2 separate regions of the Homo sapiens genome follow, and region 2 is linked to region 1. Evidence: promoter capture Hi-C in 16 types of primary human blood cells and fetal thymus (Javierre and others, 2016). All regions are on one chromosome and are shown on one strand. The core of a region is centred on a gene start or on the middle of the fragment in contact, and the rest is flanking DNA. Distances in the headings are between cores, read along the strand shown.

Region 1 (6,417 bases), core at 2,057-4,556:
TTTTCTTTAGAAACAAGGTCTCACTCTGTTGCTCAGATTGAGTACCATGGCACGATCACAGCTCACTGCAGCCTTGACCTCCCAGGCTCAAGCAATCCTTCCATTTCAGCTTCCCAAGTAGCCGGGACTACAGGTGCGCGGCATGACACCCGGCTAATTTGTATTTTTGTAGAGGCAGGGTCTATCTATGTTGCCTAGGGGGTTTCAAACTCCTGAGCTCAAGCAATCCTACCATCTTGGCCTCCCAAAGTGCTGGGATTACAGGTGTGAGCCATCAGGCTGGGCTGGCAGTTTCCTAAAAAATTAAAAACTTAACATATGACCTAGTAATCACACTCCTGGTTATTTACCAGAGAGAAATGAAAACTCATGTTCTCATTTTAAAAACTGCATACAATTGGCTGGGCACAGTGGCTCACACCTGTAATCCCAGCACTTTGGGAGGCCGAGGCAGGAGGATTGCCTGAGGTCAGGAGTTTGAGACCAGTCTAGCCAACATGGTGAAACCCTGTCTCTACTAAAAATACAAAAAAATTAGCCGGTCCTGGTGGTGTGTGCCTGTAATCCCAGCTACTCAGAAGGCTGAGGCAGGGGAATTGCTTGAACCAGGGAGGTGGAGGTTGCAGTGAGCTGAGATCGTGCCACTGCACTCCAGCCTAGGCGACACAGCAAGACTCCGTCTCAAAAAACAAAACAAAACAAAACAAAACAAAACAAAACAAAACCACTGCACACAATTGCCACAGTAGCTTTATCTGTAATAGCCCCCAACAGGGAACAAACTAGATGTCCCTCAATAGGTGAATGAATTGTTACACAAACTGTGCTAAACCCATACCATGAAATACCACTCAGCAATAAAAGGAATGAACTACTCATATACACGTAACAACTTGGATGTGTATCAAGGAAATGATATTGAATGAAAACAAGACAATCTCAAAAGGCCATGCACTGTAAGATTCTATTTATACATCAACCTATTTAGGACAAGTAGAAGAGATTAGTGGTTGCTAGGGTCAGGAATGGTGGGGAAGGAGATGGATGCAACTATAAAGGGGTGGCATGAGGGAGATCTTTGTGCTGATGGAACCATTCTGTATTTTGTTTATGGTTACAGCGATAAAATGACATAGAACTATACACACACATTGTACCAACTTCCTGGTTTTAATTTTGTATTATAGTTAAGTGAGATGTAAGTACTGGGGAAACTTGGTGAAGGGTGTTATACTATACTACAATTGCAGGTTAAAAACACACATATCTAACAGTCCAGCAGTGTTTTGCTTTGTTTAAATCCATCTACTTCTCCTTAGAAAAGTAATGATATGAACCACATGACTTCATCTTCTGGATACTATGATTGGACTGGGTGGGAAGAGATAAGGAGAACCAACCCACAAGTGAGAGTGAGCCAATCAGGCTGTCTTCAGAATTTGAACTGAATGAAAGAGACCAGCCATCCATAAAGGGTTCTGCAGCTAAAAAGTCCTGTGACAATAGGATCAAAACTGGATCCCGGCAAGTCCAAGCCACTTGAGGTCACGAGGCAAGTACCAAAACCGTGAGGCTCCTTGTCTATAAAAATGCCTAATGAGAGAATATTCCCTTTCAGAGCTATTTTGGTGGTGAATAGGTTTCTCCTTCTTGCAGCCATCAACCCTGACCAAAATGTGTGCTTGAAAAAGACATAAAAAGGTAAAAAAGACTTGTCTGCATCATTATTTGCTATGGCCCTGTCCCCATACCCCTGAAGTTTCAGAGAGCTGTCATTTTAACAATCTAATCCTCATCTCGCTTGACCTGACTGCTCAAGTCAGTGAGACTAGAGTTTGAGGGAGAAGACAGCAAACCAGATGTCTACTAAGGAGGGTAACACGATGTGCCCAGGTATACTGGACACTCCAAGCAGCATACCAGAACTATGGCCTCCACCCAGAGGGCTCCAATGCCAAGGGTAGTGACCTGGAATTTAGGGGTTAGAAGGAAGGTCCTCCTGAATACAAGTTAACAAATAATCTAGAGGTTGGAATTCATTCATTCATCTCTAAATCTTTATGTATTTATTGGCGGTGGGTGGAGGTATAGGAAGTGCGAAAGGATACTGATCTTTCAGGATCAAGGTTGAGGGACCCCACCTACTGACGTAGGCTCAGCCAAGAGCCCCACCATATCAACATCAATTACTCTTGGCCTGGTGGGAAGTAAACTGAAAAGGTCACGTGCAGGCCAAGCCACCATCTCCTCACCTCCTGGGTTAATCTCTACCTCCAGTCTCCCATCTTAGAACCCTAGCACAATGCAGAGTAGAAAAGACACTGACATCAGACTGTCTGGGTTCCAGTACTGCTTCTGCCATTTCCTGCTGTTTTGACTGCTCTGTGCCTGTTTCCTCACTTATAGAAAGGAAATTACAGGCTGGGTGTGGTGGCTCACGCCTGTAATCCCAGCACTTTGGGAGGCTGAGGCGGGCGGATCACAAGGTCAGGAGTTTGAGACCAGCTTGGCCAACATAGTGGAACCCTGTCTCTACTAAAAACACAAAAAATTAGCTGGGCGTGGTGTCGGGCGCCTGTAATCTCAGCTACTTGGGAGGCTGAGGCAGGAGAATTGCTTGAACACAGGAGGCGGAAGTTGCAGTTAGCCAAGATCGCGCCATTGCACTCCAGCCCAAATAACAATGCGAGACTCCATCTCGAAAAAAAAAAAAGGAAATTACAGTACCCCCTCATACCACCTGGCATTGGTGAGGTGATGATCACTGGCCTTACAATATCTTAGCTCTACCTTTGGTGCCCACTTCATTGGGTGGTTTCCAGAATACATATGAGAAGTCAACTGAAAAGAAGCTGAAGCAATCCAAATGTTGTTTTTGGTGTTTTTAATTGTTTTTGTTAATGTAAAAACAGAACCATCACAGCCGCTCAGCTCTATAACCCATCCAGCCCAAGACTGTTCTAGTGGTGAAACCAAGAGTAGACAGGTCTTCCTACCTCAGTGACCTCAAAACACAAGGACATCTCCATAGGGCATCAACATGCATCTGTCATCCAAGAATCTAAGAACTTCCTGATCCTTCCACATTTTCTATCAATAATATTGCCTTCTGAGGTTATGGATTCCAGGTCTTCTATGAAATAGGTAAAGCTTCCTTTCGCGTTCCAAGAAATATAGTTTGCGAAGGGAACTGGAAAACGTGACTCTAGGCCTCAGCCACTTCCTCTGTTACCCTGTGCAAGTTGTAGAACAATCCACGTTCTCACAGCTCCCCTTCTTCAGTTGTGGAGTTCTTCAAGGTGGACAGATCACACCTCAGGAAGTCATCCCTTGTAAGCACACTAGAATTTATCATAAAGGCAGGTCGGCTTGTTAGTTTTTCTTTGTCCCCAGCATACACTGAGCCAACAACTTAAGTCATGAATGGGTTGTTTAGGGCTCTGTCTGTCCTAAATGATTCCTAAAAGCTTCATATAGCTCATATAGTCTTATTGTCCACTGCTCTTTTGGTGTGGTATGATCCTACCTGTAAAGCTATCAAACCCCTGGGTCCTGGATGCCTCCTCCAGATTTCATACCTTCCTCAAGTTTACTAAATACTTTCTGAATTTAAGAATTTTGAGAAAGTCACCTACCAGCTAATGCAAAAACACAGCCTAATTCTGTGTGAATCCCTGTTGAGATCAGCTTTTCAGGTCAGGGAGGGAAGGTATGGGGTTTAGGGTACCCTCTCCTATCACACACATCCCCCCTGCCCACAGTACCCTGACCTACCTTGCCTGAGACTCCTAGACACTATGAGCTCCCTTCTGGCTGCCACTCAGACTGGCCAGGAAGGCTCCCAGATTGAACACAGGTGACCTGGTATAGATACACACTGTACTGTGGGCCAGAACCATGGACTACATTTTAAGCCATGTTGTGGGCCCTTCCTGCCTACAGAAAAGGACACTTGAGTGGAGTCACACTTGGGTTGCCTAATTTATTACCTTAACTAGAAACATTCTAAGTATGGGAGCCTGTTCTGGAGGATAGCTTCTAAACCAAATCTAAAACTATCTTTGCACACAAGTGTTGTGAAGAGGTAAGCAGGGGATCAGAGCTCCATCTTCTGTGACCACTTCTCCAGGGACTGCCACCTATAGGGCTCAGGTTGGTACCAACAGCCCTGCATAGTAGAGTCACTGTCAATCATCTTCCCACTTGTAAGCAGGAAGACAAAAAGTCTCATGAAATAGAAACGAAAACACTGAAGCATGGCCTTCATCGTCCTAATGCCACAAGTTTCCTGGGATGGCCAAGATACTACCTTAGCTTATTGTCCCTGCTTCACCTCCAGAGACTGGAGACAGAGGATTTTCCGGGGTTGGGGTTTCTTCTCTGACTTGGCAAATTCTTCTTTTTATCTCCAGCTGAACCACCAGTTCCTTGGGTAGCAGAGCAGAGACCTAAGCACAAACCACAGGGCTTACTAGCACATCCTTCAAGCCACTTCCTTTGCTGTTCTATTACTCTTCTTCAGCTTATCTGAACCTGCGGACTCTCTGGATACAGAAACTGCCCAAAGCATGGTGAAAAAGACAAAGGGCCCAGGTTTCACCTGGCAACCACTGCTCCCAACATCTAGAGTAAGTCAAAGAGGCTGAAAGATGACAGCCTAGTTCTCTTTGCCTTCATTATGATACTAACAAAAACCAGAAGTTTCCAGGAGTCAGCAAGCTACTCAGTATCTGACGTGGTTTCTAAGGTGGAGTTGCATGGGGAGCACTCTCCCGTGGCTGCTGAGTGAAGGCAACAGTGATGTCCAAAACAAGCCCGTCCGGCTCTGAACCACCAGTTGGCAGGCCAGGATGACTCCAGTCTTTAGCAAAGAGCTTTCCATTCTAACTCCCGAAATCCCAGACCAGATGGATGTCTCCTCCCAACTAGGCGCAGAGGGTAGCACAGACTTCCAAAAGGAAACACCTTCATTAAATGCAGCAGGCAGTCCTATATGCTGACCCTTGGGTCAAACCACAGCTTAAGCGGGGGAAGAAGTGGTTCTGATCCATGTACAGCCAGATCTGCTGAGGAGTCTGGGGTTCCCAGGAACCAGATTTGCAGATCCTGGACGATGGTGCTTCCCTTGCTGGCACCGTATCACCTAACCTAATGGTTTCTCTGAAGACAGTTGGCGGAGAGGCAAAAATGACTGTCTTAAACAGGTCTTCCGACACGTGGACAGCTCAGCAGGACCACACACCTGTCCAGGGCCCACCATGAGGCAGCCATCACCAACTTGGTAAGGAGGACATATCACACAGCATCTTCAGGGTGCTGGAGGCAGGCGCTGTGGCAGGAGAGGTAGTGAAGAAGGGTCAAAGCTTTGACAGGTTATCATCATATTCAGACCCTCTATCCCAATTATCCCAACTCCTGAGAATTTATTTTAAAGAATTAATTCTCAATAGGAAAGAAGTTGGATACACAAGGACACATGTTCTAGCTGCCAAGTGGTTAACAGAACATGGACTCTAGAGTGAGAGACTCAACTTTCCACTTTTTAAGGCAAGTGCCTATGTTCTCTGAGCCTCCTTTTCCTCGCCTGTAAGAGGTAGATGACAGCATCTACTTTCCAGGGTCACCGTAAGGATTAAATGAAATAATCCACATAAAGCTCCTGAGTTTAATCTGTGCTCAACAACAAAGGTCACCTCATATTATTACACATGAAGACAGAAAAGGAATGCAGAAAAAAGGAAATAGGTGAGTTTTTAAGGGCAACAGAACAGAAGGGAAGATTTCCGTGACTTCTGATTTTGAGGCCTTAGACATGTAGGTGTGGGGGGATGCCATCAATGTTGAGCCCTGCAGCTTAAGAATAAGGAAGCAAGTAGAGAGGGTGGCCTTTTTTACCAACGCTTTCCCCACTTTTCTAAATTTCCCCCTTGGGAAACTCCTAAGAGGTCTCTGAGAATGTAGTAAAGGAGGGAAGGCCAGGCGAGGTGGCTCATGCCTATAATCCCAACACTTTGGGAGGCCAGGCAGGAGGACTGCTTGAGCCCAGAAGTTTAAGACCAGCCTGGGCAACTTAGCCCATCTCTACAAAATTTTTTCAAACATTAGGTGAGCATAGTGCTGCATGCCTTATAGGCCCAGCTACTCGGGAGGCCGAGGCCACAGGATTGTTTGAGCCCAAGAGGTTGAGGCTGCAGTGAGCCATAATCACACCAATGAAGAGGAGTTTGACAATCAAACCTCATGACTTCAATCCCAGCACTTTGGGAGGCTGAGGTGGGAAGACTGCTGGAGCCCAGAGTTCCAGACCAACCTGGGCAATATAGCAAGACCCCATCTCAATCAAAAACAAAAACAAAACCTCATGGGCTTCCCTGCCCAAAGGCAGGGCTGTACACAGATGATCACTCTGTTCTGATT
Region 2 (6,417 bases), core at 2,034-4,533, 460 kb before region 1:
ACAAAAAGAGGCATCTACCAAGCTATGTATGTCCCTCACACATCAGGCCCCATGGCATCCAGGGTGGGCTCAGAGGACCTGTCGCCAACTGTGGGCTTATCCGCACCCACACACGTCAGTGTGTGCACTCACCGGCCGGATGATGTCCCCCTCGATGAGGAAGCTGCTCTCTGGGGTTTCTTCCAGGATGAGCCCTGGGAAAGGAAGAAGGACGTGTTGGCCCATGTCCCCCAGAACACTGACTCGTGGGACAGGCCAAGCAAATCCCTACTTACTTAAGTCTATTCTTGTGTCTTTCCTAGTGGATTGTTACTTTTATAAGTTCTTAAATAGCCTGATAAAAGTATAGGTCATCGGCTCTCCGAGCCTGGGTGTTTAGTTAAGTCATTAGTTGATGTTTGAGAATGTCAGCCACCCTGTGCGGACTGTCTGCAGGTGTGAGGGGGCTGGAGGACAAAGACAAAGGAGACTGAGGCTTGGGGTCTGTCCCTCTCCTGACTGTGGAGCTAGAGGTTCCCTGAGCACTGAGCCTGCGTGGCCTCAGGGAAGTCACACAGTCCCTGAGTGTGCAAGGCTTCTCGGCTGGACTGCAGCCTTCCCCTGCTCAAACACAGCCCATGACCCACGCAATCCAGTCCCAAGCCCGGGTCCCTGCTGTCAGGAAGCAGTGGCTTCTTCCAGCCTGAGCCACACTCCTCAGAACAGGCCCTGGGGTCTCCTGCCCACCTCATCCCCCATCTATTCCCCACCCATCTGTTATATTCAGGCCCCTTGAGGTGGCAATTTTGTTCCACAAATTTGTTCCACCATCAGAGGCAGGCAAATACCGGCTCTCGCAAGCCCCTCTCCCCTCTTAGTCCCTCTGCTTCTCATCTCTCCCTGAGCCGGGTCTCCCACAAGTGACTCACAGGGGGAGTGAGGGAAGCAGGAGAGAAGGCAGGGAAGAACCCAGGCACAGCCTCAGCCAGATCCCATGGGCGCTCCAGACCACAAATGACACCGCTGACTTGTACCACCTTTAGGCAGGAGCCAGACTCCTGTCCCTTAGAAGTCACAGTAGGCCACCTTGGGCAGACAAGGGAGTAGCCCCCGGGCATCTCTGGCTGAGGCAGCTCCTTCTGGCCAAGGGCCAGTTTTGGGAGGCAGACAGCTGTGCAGCATTAGCCATATTCACAGTGGCTGGAGATGGGCAGGTGCTTCCCAGGAAAGCACTGGGTAAGGCACGGGCAGCCCTTATGAGACAGCCTCACCGTAGGTGATAGGATAGTTGTTGGGGTCACCAGCATTTGGGAGTTTTCTCCATTGGTTCTGGTTACCTGCAGACCACTCACGGTGATCCAGGGGTGGGATGGTGCCTGGGGCTCAAGGCTCAGCTGGCGCTGGGCTCCCAAGTCAGCTCACAGAGGAAGAAGGGGGCAGATCACACAGTGGCTACCACATCTGGTAGGATCTCACCCACCCTTAGGGCAAGGTTGTCCCCTGTTCAGCCCGATTGCTTCAACCCTGAGTGCTTCAGCCCTCATTGCTCCAACATCTGAACTCCAGTCTCCATTTCAACTGGCTTTGTTCAGGCTATTTATACACCCTCATTCCTCAGCTGACATCCCCAGACAGCAAGGCCCTGAGCCTGACTTTTGTTTTTTGTTTTTTGTGAGATGCTCTGTCGCCCAGGCTGGAGTGCAGTGGCGCAATCTCAGCTCACTGCAAGCTCCGCCTCCCAGGTTCATGCCATTCTCCTGCCTCAGCCTCCTGAGTAGCTGGGACTACAGGCGCCCGCCACCACGCCCGGCTAATTTTTGTATTTTTGGTGGGGACGGGGTTTCACTGTGTTAGCCAGGATGGTCTCGATCTCCTGACCTCATGATCTGCCCGCCTCAGCCTCCCAAAGTGCTGGGACTACAGGCGAGAGCCACCGCACCCAGCTGAGCTTCAGACTTCTTAATCACACCTGCAGACAGTCCTGCACAGGGTGGCTGACAATCTCAGACTGCGACTAACCGCTTAGCTCCACGCCCAGGCCCTTTAAGAGCTTGGTTTTTCTTATAAAAGTAACAATCCACTAAGAAAGATACAAAAAGAAAGAGTAGACTTAAGCAATTGCCCATAGAATTTCCACCCATTCACACCTGTAGTCCCAGCTGCTCGGGAGGCAGAGGCAGGAAGATCACTTAAGGCCAGGAGTTCAAGACCAGCCGGGGCAATATAGCAACACCACTCCATCTCTTAAAAACCACTTAGAGCCCAGAGTAAGCTGGTCCATTTCCTCCCAGGCTCTGCATTTCTGAGTGTTCGGTGTGGTTTTCACACTACATAACGTCGTGCCCCTCCAGGCCGTGAGAAGATGTAGTGCCCTCACCTTGGTTAATTGCAGGAATGTCCTTGTCCCCGGAGGCCTGGGTTCCCTCAGGGGTGAGGCCATCTGGGAAGCTGGTACCACAGGCTCCTGCGCAGCTGGAGGCCAGGGGCGCTCCTAGGATCACACCTGGTCCAGACAGACAGGGGCATACACAGATGCCTGGAGCACCCACCGGTGAGACCAGACAGCAGGACATGGGGTGGGTGTGGGGGATCAGACGGTAAGACTCAGTCCCTAGGAAGAGTAGGCTCCAGCACAAAGCCAAGGAGCCTTCCCAGCCTCCCTGCTCAACCCCAACTGGTGCCAAGGTCTAGATGACCTCAGGGAAGGAGCTCCCTTAGGGGGACCAAAAGGGACCATGTGCCCCACCTATGAGGTAGAGGAGGGGCAGGAAGGAAGGAGGCAGGACAGACCTCGGGTTCTGACGCCCGTGACGGGCAGGGCCAGCCTCAGACCCCACCTTATGACTCTCTCTCAGCCCAGGCTCTTGGACAATGGGCTCAGCCTGGATGACTCCCTGCCTGACCAGGCTGGAGTGGGGACTTACAGCCTACCCCCACCCCAAGACAAGTAGGCCTGGGGCACAACACTTATCTTCTGCCAGGCAGGCCCTCTGCTTCCAGGGCCTTCAGGAGGCCTCCCCTTGGCCCCCCAGGAGCTGACTTCTAGAATAACCCTGGAGAGCTCTGTGCTCTGAGCTACTGAGCTCAGCTACAATCCCTGCAGGCTCCAGCCACAACCTTCTAGCCTCTCCCCAGCTTTCTCCAGGCTGGAGCCAGCAGCAGGAGGGACAGGCAGCCAGCTTACCTGGCAAGGAGAGCAGACCCAGCACCCAAGGCCAGAGACCCCCTACACCCTCCATGGTAGAGCCCTGCTGCCCCTTCAGCAAACAAGACCAAGCCCCAGCAAGACACAGTAACCTAATTGCAGAACCGGCACCACCACCCCCTCTTAAATAGCAGCTGCTCCACCTCCCACCTTGCTCCCCTCAACCGCCTCCACCTGCAGCCCCGCCCCAACCACCTCCACCTGCAGCCCCGCCCCAACCATCTCCACCTGCAGCCCCGCCCCAACCACCTCCACCTGCAGCCCCGCCCCAACCAGCTCCACCTGCAGCCCCGCCCCAACCAGCTCTACCGGCAGCGCCACCCAAACCAGGTCTACTGGCAGCCCCTCCGATGCCTACCTGTGGTTCCCACCCCAGCCCAGTCCCCTTCCTGGCTGTAGCAGGTGAAAGACAGGAGGGGCCCGCTTGGGAGTGTGGCTCTTCTGAGGTTCCTTCCTGCCTCCAGGGGGCAGAGAAACATCGCAGAAAGTTGCTCCAGGCCTAGCTGAGGCCCCAGCCCAGGTATAGACCTATTCCTCCAGCGAGGGAGACCCCCTTTCCTACCCCGGCCTGTGCTTAGACATGGGGAAAGCTGCCTGAGACCCTGGGGCGCCCCCCGTGTATCTCCGGAAGGAGGAAAAGGTCACTGCACTTTCACAAGCTTTTATTTTAGTACACATATAGAAAAGTTCACTATCACAAGCACAGGGCTCCAGGAAATTTCACAAACTGAACAGTGTGCAGCACCCTAGAAAGCCTGCCATGTGGGAAAGGTGGAACCCCCAGATGCCCAGAGCCTCGCAGGGAGTCCACCCCCTAATCCCACAGCAGCTGGCATGATCAGTCAGTATTTATTCCCATTTCACAGATTTGGAAATTTAAACTCCTTACCTATATCCCCCCTCCTCCATACCCCTGAGCCCCAGAGCCAGGTCACTCAGGGCCCCACCTGGATTGAAATCCCAGAGGCGGAGCATGTCAGCGCTGGGCAGCATTTGGGGACACCCCCACAGTCACCTGCACCCAGTGAAGGGAAGCGACAGAGCCAAGAAGAATAGCTATTGTCCACAAGGACCTTTCAGCATTCCCACTGTGCCTGGAATCCAGAGCTTCTCCAAAGATAGGAATCAGAATCACAGGGAGACCATGATGGAGGCAGACGCCCTGCTGCCAGGGCAGGGTATTGACAGATGTCAGGATACACACCATGGATATGCTAGTTAGCTTGTTGTGGTCATCATTTCACAAGGTATGCATATGTCAAAACATCACGTTGTATACTTAAACATATACTACTTTTATTTGTCGATTATGCCTCAGTAAACCTAGAAAAAATAAGTAAAATAAAGAATAGGACCCATCAAAAAACAAATGCACAAGGCTGACCACTTAAGATGAGTGTTCAGGAGGGCGCGGTGGCTCACGCCTATAATCCCAGCACTTTGGGAGGCCAAGGCAGGTGGATCACGAGGTCAGGAATTCAAGACCAGACTGGCCACCATGGTGAAACCCCATCTCTACTAAAAGAATACAAAAATTAGCTGGGCACGGTGGCGGGCACCTGTAATCCCACCTACTCGGGAGGCTGAGGCAGGTGAATCACTTGAACCCAGAGGTGGAGTTTGCAATGAGCCAAAATCGCGCCACTGCACTCTAGCCCGGGGGACAGAGTGAGACTCCATCTCAAAAAAAAAGATGAATGTTCAGTAAAAAAAAATAAAGTAGACCGGGCGCAGTGGCTCATGCCTGTAATCCCAGCATTTTGGGAGGCCAAGGCAGGCAGATTACTTGAGGTCAGGAGTTCGAGACCAGCCTAGCCAACACGGTGAAACCCCATCTCTACTAAAAATACAAAAATTAGCCAGAAATCCCTTGAACTCAGGAGGCAGAGGTTGCAGTGAGCCAAGATTGTGCCACTGCACTCCAGCCTGGGCAACAGAGTGAGACTCTGTCTCAAAAAACAAAAGAATTAAAATAATGATAAGAAATAATCACCCTGCTTGGGGAGAGAAACAGAGTCTTTATTAGGACATGCAGTTGGTCTGAGGATATTTTGCTGAGCGAAACAAGCCAGTCACAAAAAGACAAATCCTGCATGCTTCTACCTCCAAGAGGTGTCTAGAGTAGCCCAGTGCACAGGGACGGAAAGTGGAACGGAGCTCACAAGGGGCTGGGGACTGGGGAGGGGAGTTATCATTTAATAGGTATAGGATTTCAGGTTCGCAAGATGAAAAAGCTCTGGATATCTGTGCACAACGATGTGAATACACTTTACTAAACACTTGATAATGGTAAAGATGACCAATTTTATGTTGCATTTTTTACCACAATTAAAAGTTTAAAAATTTAATAAATAGGAAAGAAGGAAAGGAGGAAAAGAGAGAGAAAGAGAAGGGCAGTTTGCTAGATGACAAGCTATAAAAAGCACGGGGAAGGAAGGAGAGGGGATTGGGGCTGGGTAGGGTGGGATGGGGTAGGGCCAAGGGTGGGGGGTGGGCAGAGGCCTCAGCCACCAGTGCAGCTGTGTGTGAGATGAGGCTGTGTGGTGTGAAGTCCCCTATGACTTAGAGCCCCAGATGTCCCCCACCCACCCAAGCTGGGCATGGGGGTACAAGTGGGTCCCAACAGATGCCTACTCAGCTCCTAAGGAAGGCAGAATAGCAACCCCGGCTCTGCCCAGTTCACACTGGAGTGGCTCACCCCACCCCTCAGACAGCAGTGGGAACAAGAATCACCCTTCATTCGGCCTCACAGAGTGAGCGCCCACCTGTGCCAGGCTCCAGGCACAAGGCTGAGTGGACCCCAGGCCCAGCCGTTATGAGTGTCCATCCTGGTCCAGATGCACACCTCGCATGTGCACACCGGCACATCAGATCAACCTCACTCCTAGGGCCGTAGTTAGCTAACATTTTCGGAGCGCCTACTATGAGCAGGCACTACATGGATTGACTTGTGTAAGTCTACATCCTCAGAGGTGGGGGCTAACAATGAAACTCCATTTTACAGACAAGAAAACTGTATACAGCAAGGTGAAGCAAAACCAGCCCCCGGACTGTCAAACTACACTGCCCTGCCCCACAAGCACACCCTCCCAGGCATTCAGAATGCCGTAAGACAGCAGTTCCCAACCTTTGTGGCACCAGGGACCGGTTTTTGTTTGTTCCTCTGTTTGAGATGGAGTTTCACTCTTGATGCTCAGGCTGGAGTGCAATGGCGCAATCTTGGCTCACTGCAA

What was found. The method cuts DNA at HindIII sites, captures the fragments that hold promoters and counts their contacts. A CHiCAGO score of 5 or more calls a contact.
Region 2: the fragment with the promoter of ASTL here is called in contact with a fragment that was not itself captured in region 1 in 1 of 17 cell types (total CD8 T cells); the score reaches 7.8 in total CD8 T cells.

Annotation. Positions count from the first base shown.
Region 1 is chr2:96,590,303-96,596,719 of GRCh38, forward strand. KANSL3 (KAT8 regulatory NSL complex subunit 3) reads right to left here. Exons shown (of 21, transcript NM_001115016.3): 21 at 2,870-5,329. The coding sequence ends at 5,309. Among named protein-coding and RNA genes, the nearest start is that of KANSL3, 45 kb to the right of the region's middle. The HindIII fragment of the contact is 317 bases long and covers 3,149-3,465 here.
Region 2 is chr2:96,135,219-96,141,635 of GRCh38, forward strand. ASTL (astacin like metalloendopeptidase) reads right to left here and starts at 3,284. Exons shown (of 9, transcript NM_001002036.4): 1 at 3,164-3,284; 2 at 2,357-2,482; 3 at 133-194. The coding sequence starts at 3,218. RefSeq lists enhancers at 749-798, 3,139-3,208 and silencers at 4,099-4,188, 6,162-6,211, 6,272-6,321. The HindIII fragment of the contact is 4,955 bases long and covers 1-3,841 here.